Regions from separate parts of the Homo sapiens genome. Here region 1 is linked to region 2. The links are contacts of gene promoters, found by promoter capture Hi-C in human tissues and cell types (Jung and others, 2019). All regions are on one chromosome and are shown on one strand. Each heading gives the region's core, a stretch centred on a gene start or on the middle of the fragment in contact. The rest is flanking DNA. Distances are from core to core; before and after follow the strand shown.

Region 1 (5,523 bases), core at 542-3,041, 70 kb before region 2:
GAGGTGCACAGGAGAGACCTGCAGAAGAGCTGCCCAGGCATTCCACAGAATCATGAGAAATGATGAATCGTTTTTTAAAGCAATTAAGCTTTGGGGCTCTTTTGTTTCACCGTAAAAATAACTGATACAATCTAGATAGTTCCAGTGGCCTCCATTCTAGGTTTTTTTTTCTCCAGTCTTGCAACTCCAGTGCACCACCACGTGTCACCAGAATGGTCATTCTAACTTGAACTCTCACTGGATTAAAAATTTTGTTAAAAGTCTTTAGTGGCTCAGCCTGGCGCGGTGGCTCACGCCTGTAATCCCAGCACTCTGGGAGGCCGAGGCGGGCGGATCACGAGGTCAGGAGATGGAGACCATCCTGGCTAACACCGTGAAACCCCGTCTCTACTAAAAATACAAAAAAGTAGCCGGACGTGGCAGCGGGCGCCTGTAGTCCCAGCTACTCGGGAGGCTGAGGCAGGAGAATGGCATGAACCTGGGAGGCGGAGCTTGCAGTGAGCCAAGATCGTGCCACTGCACTCAAGCCTGGGTGACAGAGCGAGGCTCCATCTCAAAAAAAAAAAAAAAAAAAAAAGAAAAAAGAAAAGAAAAAGAAGTCTTCAGTGGCTCTCCTTCTTTTTTTCCTTTTGTTTAGAGACAGGGTTTCACTCTGTCCCCCAGGCTAGAGTGCAGTGGCTGGATCAACTGGACTCAAGAAATCTTTTTTGTTGAAATGGATGTCTCACTATGTTGCCCAAGCTGATCTCGAACTCCTGGCCTCAAGTGATTCTCCCACCTCAGCCTCCTGAGTCACTGGGATTACAGGAAGTGGCTCCACATTTTATGAGATAACACTGAGCCTCCGAATTGTAGTGTATGAAACCTTCTGTGGCCCAGCCTCTGCAGACCTCTTTGGTCTCATCTCCAAGTACCATGGCACCCTCTGTGAGTTAGGCCACTGCTAGGAGGAACAGTTTACCTGTGGAGCTTCGAAAAATTCCAGTGCTCGGGCTCCAGCACCAGACACTCAGATTTAATTGGTCTGAAATGGGACCCGGGCAACAGTATTTTTTAAAAGCTCCCCAGTGGATGCTAATATATACCCAGGGTTGAGAACCATTCAGCTAGAGGATCCAAAAGTGTATTTTAAAATTGCTGATCTTGCCTTCAAGGAAATTCAAAAGCTTCAAGGAAAGACTAAACTATGCTGTGTGCCCTTTTAGCATTAAGTAAGCGATATTGTGTTTTAAGTTTTGGGAAATTGGTAATAGACGCTATGAGAACATTCTTTAATTATTTGAAACATCAATTTATCAATATTTTATTTCCTCAGTGTTAGACTCACCCTTTTCATAGTCTAATGTTTCTGATCAAATTCCACCTTATTATTGAATGTATGCATTTAATGCTTCTTTATTTTACGGAAAACTAGTAATTTCACTAAAGGTGTTTCTTATTGCCAGCAGTGATCACAATCAAAGAAACATCTTTCTGGGACATGGCATTTTTCCATGTGCAAAGTGCTGTAACTTCTTTGATCCCAATTGATCTTTCCATCAACCTGGTGAGGTGGAGATTTTTAACTTCATTTTATGTGCCATAACTGCTACAACTTATTGAGCACTTACCACTGTTCTAAGTACTTTGCAAATACTATCTCATTTAAGCCCTACAGCAACCAGTAATGTGACCATATTTTATGCACTGGGAAGCTGAGGCAGAGATGTTAGGTCAGTTGCCTAGGGTCATGATCACACAGCTGAGAGAGGACAGGGCTGTGTGACCATGAGGAAAGGATACTACAGTCCTCAGGGACTCTGAGCATGCCATGCGGTTTTCAGGAGATGGTCCTTCTGCTTGTTTCTCAGAATAAAGTGCAGATGTCTTAATATGGCATTTGAAGCCTTTTGCAATTCTTCCCAAATGTTTATTGCAATGGTAATAAAAAATCCAGCCGGGCACAGTGGCTCATACCTGAATCCCAGCACTTTGAGAGGCCAAGGCAGTCAGATCATGAGGTCAGGAGATTGAGACCATCCTGGTTAACATGGTGAAACCTTGTCTCTGCTAAAAATACAAAAAATTAGCTAGGCGTGATGGCACGTGCCTGTAGTCCCAGCTACTAGGGAGGCTGAGGCATGAGAATCGCTTGAACCCGGGAGGCAGAGGTTGCAGTGAGCCGAGATCGCATCACTAAACTCCAGCCTGGGTGACAGAGTGAGACTCCATCTCAAAAAAAAAAAAAAAAGAAAATCCACAACCCCCTAATAAAGAAAGCTGAGAATAAGGATCCCAGTAATTAAGGGCGACTGAATGCCAGGCACTTTGCACATATTATCTCTAATCCTCCTAACAACATTGTGTGAGGGGATTTGCAGGGGCCTGGGTCGGTTTTGCTGTTAGGCACCCCTCCCCTTTCTTCTGGATTGTCTTCTGGGTATCATCCTACAGGCCCCTGTATTTTCGGTCTTGTCAGGGCTGTCAATCAGGATGCTTCACCCTTCTCTGGGCAAGAGGTGTTCATCACACTCTTTAGGAATTTGAACCTTGAACACAGCTATACATCATCAGAAAAAAAAATGGGCAGAGTTGAATTATCCCAGGGACAAAGTCCTGTTGATGGTAATAATAGTATTTATTGGGAATTTACAAGTGTGAGCACAATAAGAGTTGTACATATATTAATTCATTTCATCCTGCAAACAGTTCTTTCAAGGAGTCCCTGATATACTCCCTGTCTTCCCTAACAGATGGACAAACCAAGGCAACAAAACAAGGTCGTGCAGGTTTATGGGTAGAGCTAGATTTGAACATAGACAGCCCGATGCAGAACCTCTTGCTTCTGCAGTCACTCCATGGCTTCTCAGCTGGTCTTTTCTGTAGATTCTGTCCCTTGGGCCTTTTCTTTCTGAGTCTAGTTCTTAGTCTGTCCCTTTAATTCAGTCATCTACACCACAGGCTTGCTATTAATCCCCTTTTTGACTCATGAGGCTGAGTAGGTTTCTGTTGCTGGTGACTACAAAACCCTAAATAATTAAAGTCTTGTTATGCCTGCTTGCAGGTGAGAGGTCTGATGCTCTGGAGAGGTGAACAGATGAAAATCACTAGCTACTAATAGTAATAATAATAATAGCAACGGTAATAATGATAGTAACAGATAACATTTATTTGAGTTACTTAGCATTTAATGAGTTCTTACTACAAGGCAGTCTCTGTGCTAGGGAATTTATATAAATTATCTCACTTAAACTTCCCAATAACCCTAAAAGGTAAAACTTTTTAAATTGAGATATAATTCACTTACCACAAAATTCACTCCGTGAAAGTGTACACTTCAGTGGATTTTAGAGTATTCACAGGATTGAGCAACTATCACCACTATTTAATTCCAGAATATTTTCATCACCCCATATAGAAATCCTGTGCCCGTTAATTAGCCTTCAATCAGCTGGGCGCGGTGGCTCACACCTGTAATCCCAGCACTCTGGGAGGCCGAGGCGGGTGGATCACGAGATCAGGAGATCGAGACCATCCTGGCTAACATGGTGAAACCCCGACTCTACTAAAAAAAATTTTTTTAAATAAAAAAAAATTAGCCGGGCATGGTGGCGGGCGCCTGTAGTCCCAGCTACTCGGGAGGCTGAGGCAGAAGAATGGCGTGAACCCGGGAGGTGGAGCTTGCAGTGAGCCGATGTTGTGCCACTGCACTCCAGCCTGGGCGACAGAACGAGACTCCTCCATCTCAAAAAAAAAAAAAAAATTAGCCTTCATTCTCCATTCTCCCCTACCCCCAACCCCTTGGCAACCGTGAATCTACTTTCTGTTTCTATGGATTTGCCTATTCCAGACATTTTATATAAATGGAATTATAAAATATGTGGTATTTTATGACTGTCCTTTTTTCACTCAGAACAATGTTTTCAAGGTTCATCCATGTTGTAATATGTCGTTGTTTTTTTTTTTTTTTTTTTTTTTTTTTTTTTTTTTTGAGACGGAGTCTCACTCTGTCGCCCAGGCTGGAGTGCAGTGGCATGATCTTGGCTTACTGCAACCTCCACCTACCTGGTTCTAGCAATTCCCTTGACTCAGCCTCCTGAGTAGCTGGGATTATAGGCGCACACCACCACACCTGGCTAATTTTTTTTTTTGTATTTTTAGTAGAGACAGGGTTTCACCATGTTGGCCAGACTGGTCTTGAACTCCTGACCTCAGGCAACCCACCCGCCTCGGCCTCCCAAAATGTTGTGATTACAGGCGTGAGCCACCGTGCCCAGCCCATTTTTTTTTTAAATTGTGGTAAATTATACAAAGTATTCATCATTTTAATCATTTGTAAATATAGAATTCAGCAGCATTAAACACATTTACAATGTTATGTAACCATCACCACTATTCATACCCCAAACTTTTTCAGAATCTCTAACATAAACTCAGTAACAATTAAACAAATAACTCCCCATCCCTCTCTCCCCACTGCCCCTGGTAACATCTGTACTATTTTCTGTCCCTAGGAAGTTGCCTATTCTTTTTTCTTCTTTTCTTTTCTTTTTTTCCCGAGATGGAGTTTTGCTCTTGTTGCCCAGGCTGGAGTACAATGGCAAAATCTTGGCTCACTGCAACCTCCACCTCCCAGGTTCAAATGATTCTCCTGCCTCAGCCTCCCAAGTAGCTGGGATTACAGGCAGGCACCACCATGCCTGGCTAATTTTGTATTTTTAGTAAAGACGGGGTTTCACCATGTTGGTCAGGCTGGTCTCAAACTCCTGATCTCAGGTGATCCACCTGCCTCAGCCTCCCAAAGTGCTGGGATTACAGGCATGAGCCACCGTGCCTGGCCAGAAGTTGCCTATTCTAAGTACTTCATACAAGTGAAATCATACCACACTTGCATGTTCTTTGGGTTTAGTTTATTTCACTTCATATAATGTTTTCAAGGCCTATCCACATTGTAGCAAGTGTCAAAATGTCATTTGTTTTTGTGCCTGAATAATATTCCCTTGCATGCCTGTGACACATTTTGTTTTATCTACTCACCTGCTGATGGATGCTTTGGTCATTTCCATATTTTGGCTCCTGTGAGTAATGCTACTGTGAACATCAGTGACACTTATCTGTTCAAGTCCCTGATTTTAATTCTTCTGGATGTACGTCTAGGAGTGGAACTGCTGGGTCATATGGTAGTTCTATCCTTAACTTCTGGAGGAGCTGCCACACTGTCTTCCACAGTGGCTGCACCAGTTTACATTCCCACCAGCAACACATGGGGGTTCTGTTTTCTGTCTTTTCAAGACTGAGTCTCGCTCTGTCACCCAGGCTGGAGTGCAGTGGTGCAATCTCGGCTCACTTCAACCTCCGCCTCCTGGGTTCAAGCAATTCTCCTGCCTCAGCCTCCTGAGTAGCTGGGATTACAGGTACCTGCCACCACGCCCAGCTAATTTTTTGTATTTTTAGTAGAGACAGGGTTTCACCATGATGGCCAGGCTGGTCTCGAACTCCTGACCTCAGGTGACCCACCTACCTCAGCCTCCCAAAGAGCTAGGA
Region 2 (5,475 bases), core at 2,205-4,704:
ACATATGTTGAGACAAGGTTAAGTGCCACTGGTGGAGAGCCTGTGAGAGCTGGGCTGGGAGGGAGTGGAGGTCTGGTCACTGAAGCTGGGGCATGGACACGCTTGTCCAGGGAGGAATGTGGAGTGAGGAGGGCAGGGGGCTGGAGACAGACCCGGACAGGTCACAACATTCTGGGAGGAGGAGTGAGGAACGGTTAACAAGGTAGAGAGACCAGGGTAGCAGGGGTTGGGGAGCCCACAGGGACAGAGTTCCAAGAAGGAGGGCATGGGTGACAATGGAGAAGGCCTTAGAGAAACCCAGTGAGGTCAGGGCTGATGGTGGCCCCAGACTCAGACACAGAGGGAGCAGGGGGACCTGGGCCGTGAGAGCCGAAGGGGCCTCAGCTGGAGCTGCAGTCACTCTCACCCCAATACCCAATGTAGGGAGAAGGAGGGGAAGAAACACCCCAACCTCCATCTCCTCTCTCCCTGGCATCTCCGGCCTGTGCCTCCCACTGGCTCACCTTTCCAGGAAGCAGATGGAAGGAAGCCAGCATGACACAGCCCACAGGTGCCAGCAGGGCAAGGGCGGCTCTGGGTGGGGAGTAGGGACAAACAGAACAACCAGTGAGACCCTGAGAAGGGAGATGTGAGACCCTGGGGAATGATCCAGAGCAGGAGTCACCTGGAAGGGTCTGAAGGGGTTCCTTCTGGTGGGCTCCTCAGTGGGGAGGGTCACTATCCTCCCACGACGAGGCTCTGACAGCAGCCGCCCAGTCCTTGCAATGTTCTCAGGCAGATGCTGTGATGATCCCATTTACAGATGGGAGAACTAAGACGCAGAAAAGGAACAGACCAACAAAAGCTCACCTAAGGGCAGAGAGCAGGAACCGGATTCAAACCCAGGTCTGCCTGATGCCAAAGCTGGGACTCCCAACCACTGAACCTTGCTGTCGCATGTGCCCATCAGCTTGAGAGTTGGTGGGAATCCCGGCCCAGGACAGCGTCCCCTCAGCCAGGGAGGTGGCAGCAAGTCATGCTCAGGCTAGTGGAGGGGCAGTTAGTAACCTGCAGTCGGAGGTTCACCAGTGGAAAGGCTGGAGTCGGGCAGACCCAACTCGAATCCTGCCAGGCACTGGTGCTGGGCTGCTCACCTCTCTGTGCCTCGGTTTCCTCATCCATAGAATGGGGCCAATGCTGACTTTGCAGTGCTGCTGGTGGGTGGGGGGGGGGTAAACTGAGGTTATGTCGATTCCCTTCCCAGGTGGGGAGGACAGGGGAAGTGGATGCACCTGGGGGACCATCTCAGAGGAGCTGGCCCACTCTTACTGCCTTCTCCAGATCCGGACCAGGGAGCGGTCAAGATGGTGTGCCCTTGTCTGACCTCCGTCCTGCCTGCTGTCCAGCGACTCCCTGGCTTCCTCCCCGTCACGTGGGACTCCTGTACCCGGTGCTGTCGGGGGAGCCCCCCTCCATACCCTCCAGACCTCACAAGACACTTCCAGGTCTGGCCACAAGGTGGAGTGTGGCGGCTGCAGGACAGTGCTGGGGGCCGGGCTGCAGAGGAGACTGGACCTGCGCCGGGTGACCTCCCCGCTCTGTGAAAGTGTGGGAGTTTGTGTCTGTGCATCCAGAGAACCAGAGGGTGGTGGTTGACTTGCCGTGCTCCCCCCAGCCCCCCATTGGGATTGCCTGGGTCTCTGGGGGATCACTGAGAAGCTGGATAAAGAGAGCTGGCACTGTCGCCTTGGCTCACTAACGCCACCATTTTACAGGTGAGGAGACTGAGGCCCAGAGAAGGAAGTCACGTGCTGAGGTCACCGGCTAATCAGTGGCTGAGCTGGGCTCGAACCCAGATCTCTTACGCTGTGAGGCCTCTGCTTTTCCTGTGGCATGGAGAGGGGCTTCTCCCACCTGGGGAGAGGGATCCTGTTGTATTGGAGAGGCAGGGGATTAAAGATGGACTGAGAGAGGTTAGTGTCCCAGAAACCAAGGGGCAATCCCTGCCCTGGAGAGAACAGGCCTCAAGGGCAGGGATGGGGCAGGGGCAGTGGATAAGGAGTCTACCCAGGCCTTTTTGGGTTCCCTCCTTTGGTCCCTGGGGACCCAGGGCTGTGGCACTTGCCCCGGGCTAGAGGGTCGGCCAGGGCCTGTGTGGTGCCCACTGCTCCCTCCCCTGCACTGCAGGGGACCCTTGCCCATCCCTCTAGCTCATCTGGACCTCCCTCAATGGCTCCTGCTGTCTTTCCAGGCTGTGTCCTCCCGTGTCAGGGACACATCCCAGAGCCCAGGGCCTGCGTGGGCTGTATCCACGGTTACTGAATAGGGACAAACAGGCATGTATTGGCAGGGGCCGGTGGCTCATTTCAGGAAAGTCCCTTCAGCAAGAGGATTCTCTCCCCACTGGGGCTGAGGGTGGTAGAAGAAAGGAATGTTGTTCTATGTTGTAGTGTCTCTGAGATGACCTGGCTTCCTGAACCAGGTCCCCCTGAAGAGCTCCTCCTGTCCACCCCAACAAGAGGCCAGCTGGAGAGCAAGCAAACATCGAGTGCAGCAGGAGACTATAAGGTTAGACAACAAGAAGGACTTCCTGGCAGGGGAGAGCAATGCTTGCTTGGTTAGAGCTGCCTTTCAGTAGAATGGGCTGCTTTGGATTGCAGTGAGGTCGCTGGAGTTGCAAACAGCAGAGCCAGAGATCAAGGTCAAGTGGAAGAAAGCTGGGAAAGGTTCAGTTTGGCTGGTGAAGGGTGGAGAGGGTAAAGGGAGGCAGGGACCACCGTGGTGCAGGGGTGAGGTGCCCTGCAGGGAGCTGATCCTGAGGCCGATGGTGGGAGGAGCTGTGTGTGGTCGGGTGGGACGGGGTGGGGACAGCAGGAGACACTGAGAAGGTGGCATGGCCAGGAGCTAGGGGCTGACCGAGTGTGGGGAGGGGGGAGTGGGGAGGGGGCGTTGGGCTGCCCGATGGGAGGTGCCTTGGCTCCGATGGGAGCACTGGGGAGCAGCAGGTGGGGGGACGAGCTGGGTGGGAGGGGCTGCAGCTTCCCAGCAGAGACAGGGTCTGGGAGGCGACTGGACTCGAAGGCCTGGGCTTGGGAGAGAGGCCCGGGCTGGAGAGGTGGGGAGGGGGATCCAGGAGAGGGGATAACTAAGGACTTGGGAGTAGCTGGCATCACCTGGTGAGACGAGAGTCCTGAACAGCCCCCTCTCCAAGGACAGAAATTTCTCCAAGGAGGCTGACCTGAGAGGTGGGAGGAGAGTGGGGCAGAGGGTCAGGAGGGAGAAACCAGTGGGTGCCAAGACCAGGTCAGCCCCACAGGCTAGGGGGCTTGAGGACTTGGGGCTGATGTCTAGGGACGTCCACGAGGTGGAGCAGCCCAGGAGGCCTGGGTGGGAGGAGGAGGCGGTGGCGGGGAGGGGAGGGAGGGGCTGGGCCTCTGTCCACAGCATTAGTGCTGGTTGGAGGGACGAGGGGGGTGCGGAGCCAGCCAGGCCGCCCTCCCGTTCTCACAGCAGCCGAGCAGAGCGCAGAGCGGGCTGCCATGGCGCTGGCCAGGCCTGGGACCCCGGACCCCCAGGCCCTGGCCTCTGTCCTGCTACTGCTGCTCTGGGCCCCTGCCCTTTCCCTCCTGGCTGGTGAGTTGGGGCCCATGTCTGGAGGGGCCTGGGAGAGGGTCTGTCCCCCAAGACAGATACCCCAAGCCTTGGCTGCTGGGGTGGTGGGTGGGCTGGTCCGCGTGGGTGCAGGCCTGAGCTGTGGGGTGCACAGGAGTGCGCGGCTGTGGCCCCCAGACTCTGTGGGGCTCCACGGAGGTGAGTGTGTTCTGAGGCTCGGGGCTGTTTCATGTTGAGGGGGGTTGTAAGTTTCGGGGTTGGGGGATCGGGGGCTGGGCATGATTTGGGGGAGCTGATGCGGGTGAGGGATGGGGTGCGTGTTTTGGGAGGTGCTGTGTTGCATCCTGTAAAGGGCTGGGGGACTTCTGGGTTTCTAGGGGCTGAGTTTGGGGAGTTGCAGGTGGCATAAGCCTCACCCCAGAGCTTGTTCTGTGTCGCATGCTGGGTTGTGGGGCACAGGTTGTGGGTGTGTTAGAGTTGGGAGGTGGATGAGCTGTCTGGGGTGAGCCGTGAGTTGTGTCCGAGGAGTTGGGTGTGGTGAGCTGTGTCCTAGCACACGCTGTGGGGTGTAGGTTGTCCAGGGTTGAACTAGGTCTTTGCTCTCAACATGAGGGGTGTGGGATGTGCACAGCCGACCCCAACTCGGGACTGAGTGGAGAAGCGTGAGGGAGACTCAGGGAGCTGGGTGCCTGCCCGCACCCCTCCATTTGTGCGGTAGCCCTGCCTGTGCTGAGGGCTGCTGGGGATGCTCTGGGTCCCTGTGGGGTGGCTGGGGATTTGGGAACATGTGTGTGTCCCCTGCTGCCCCCTCCCCAGCATTCCAAGGCCAATCTGAAAGGGCTCCCTGAAGCCAGACCACATTTGCCAAGCCCTTTTTGCTTTTGTCCAAGCTCTCGGAGCCTGGAATTCCTCCTGGGGGGTCCAAGGGAACGCTTGGTGTTAGTTACTATAGTTACAGGGGCCGGGCCTGGGAAGTCCCCTGCCCCCACCACCACAGGCTGGGGAGGGAGCCAAGGAGGGCCTGGGCTCTCCTGAGGCTGGGGGAGCCCTCCCTGCCCCAGAGCTCCACAGGCTGTAGGGTGTGGGGGCCAAGTGTCTCCCAGTCCCACCTGGGGACCCTCATGTTTCCCGCACTCACAAAGCTTTCATTTCCTATCCTCTCTATGGGGCCCTAGGGAGGATGAGGACCCCATTTTGCAGTGAAGGAAACCAAGGCTCAGAGAGGGACGGGGACTTATGAGCTGGGCTCTGCTGGCAGGCGACTTGGGCTCCATAGAGGGGTGGGGCATGGTGGCGGGGGGCGGGGTGGCTGCTCCTCTCTGTTCTCTGCATACAAAGCACGTGAGATCCCGGTCTGTGGATCGGTGCTCTGTCCCCTGCCCTGTGATGCTCACACACCCACACTCCGCACACCTGTGTGGCATGCCCAAGGGCACACAGCACCACAGGGACAGGTGCTACAGACACATGTGGATCTACCAGCACATGCACCTACCTACACACATGGCATGTGCCTGCACACCAATGTGCACACCCCAACACGCACATGTGGACATGTGTGCATTCACACTCAGTGTGCACTCACAGGGGACCTGGAGGCACAGAGTGGATGGAGGCTGTGGGGGGTCTGGACACTGGTGTGTACACTCAACCCATCAGGCCTGCTGGGTTGCCCAGGGGCAGCCTTTCCTCTGCCATTTCTGTGCTGGGAGCGCCATCCCTGGGGATCCCTAAAAGTTGGTGGGGTACACTGCAGGCATGACCATTTCTGCATGCTGGTACCCTAGACTGCCTGCCGGGAGGGGAGGGATTGGGGATTTTGTCACTTGAAAACCAATTTCCATCCTGGAGGGGATGGGGGCTTCTGGAGGCCATGGGCCCCTG

What was found. The method cuts DNA at HindIII sites, captures the fragments that hold promoters and counts their contacts. A contact is called where the count stands out against the background at its distance.
Region 1: a fragment that was not itself captured here is called in contact with the fragment with the promoter of CRB2 in region 2 in 3 of the 25 tissues and cell types used here (bladder, liver and mesendoderm cells).

The regions. Positions count from the first base shown.
Region 1 is chr9:123,284,886-123,290,408 of GRCh38, forward strand. No RefSeq gene overlaps it. Among named protein-coding and RNA genes, the nearest start is that of STRBP, 19 kb to the left of the region's middle. The HindIII fragment of the contact is 4,577 bases long and covers 1-4,080 here.
Region 2 is chr9:123,352,743-123,358,217 of GRCh38, forward strand. CRB2 (crumbs cell polarity complex component 2) reads left to right here and starts at 3,455. Exons shown (of 13, transcript NM_173689.7): 1 at 3,455-3,612. The coding sequence starts at 3,519. RefSeq lists silencers at 1,276-1,385, 1,406-1,455 and enhancers at 1,418-1,917, 1,586-1,755, 5,136-5,475. The HindIII fragment of the contact is 16,000 bases long and covers 1-5,475 here.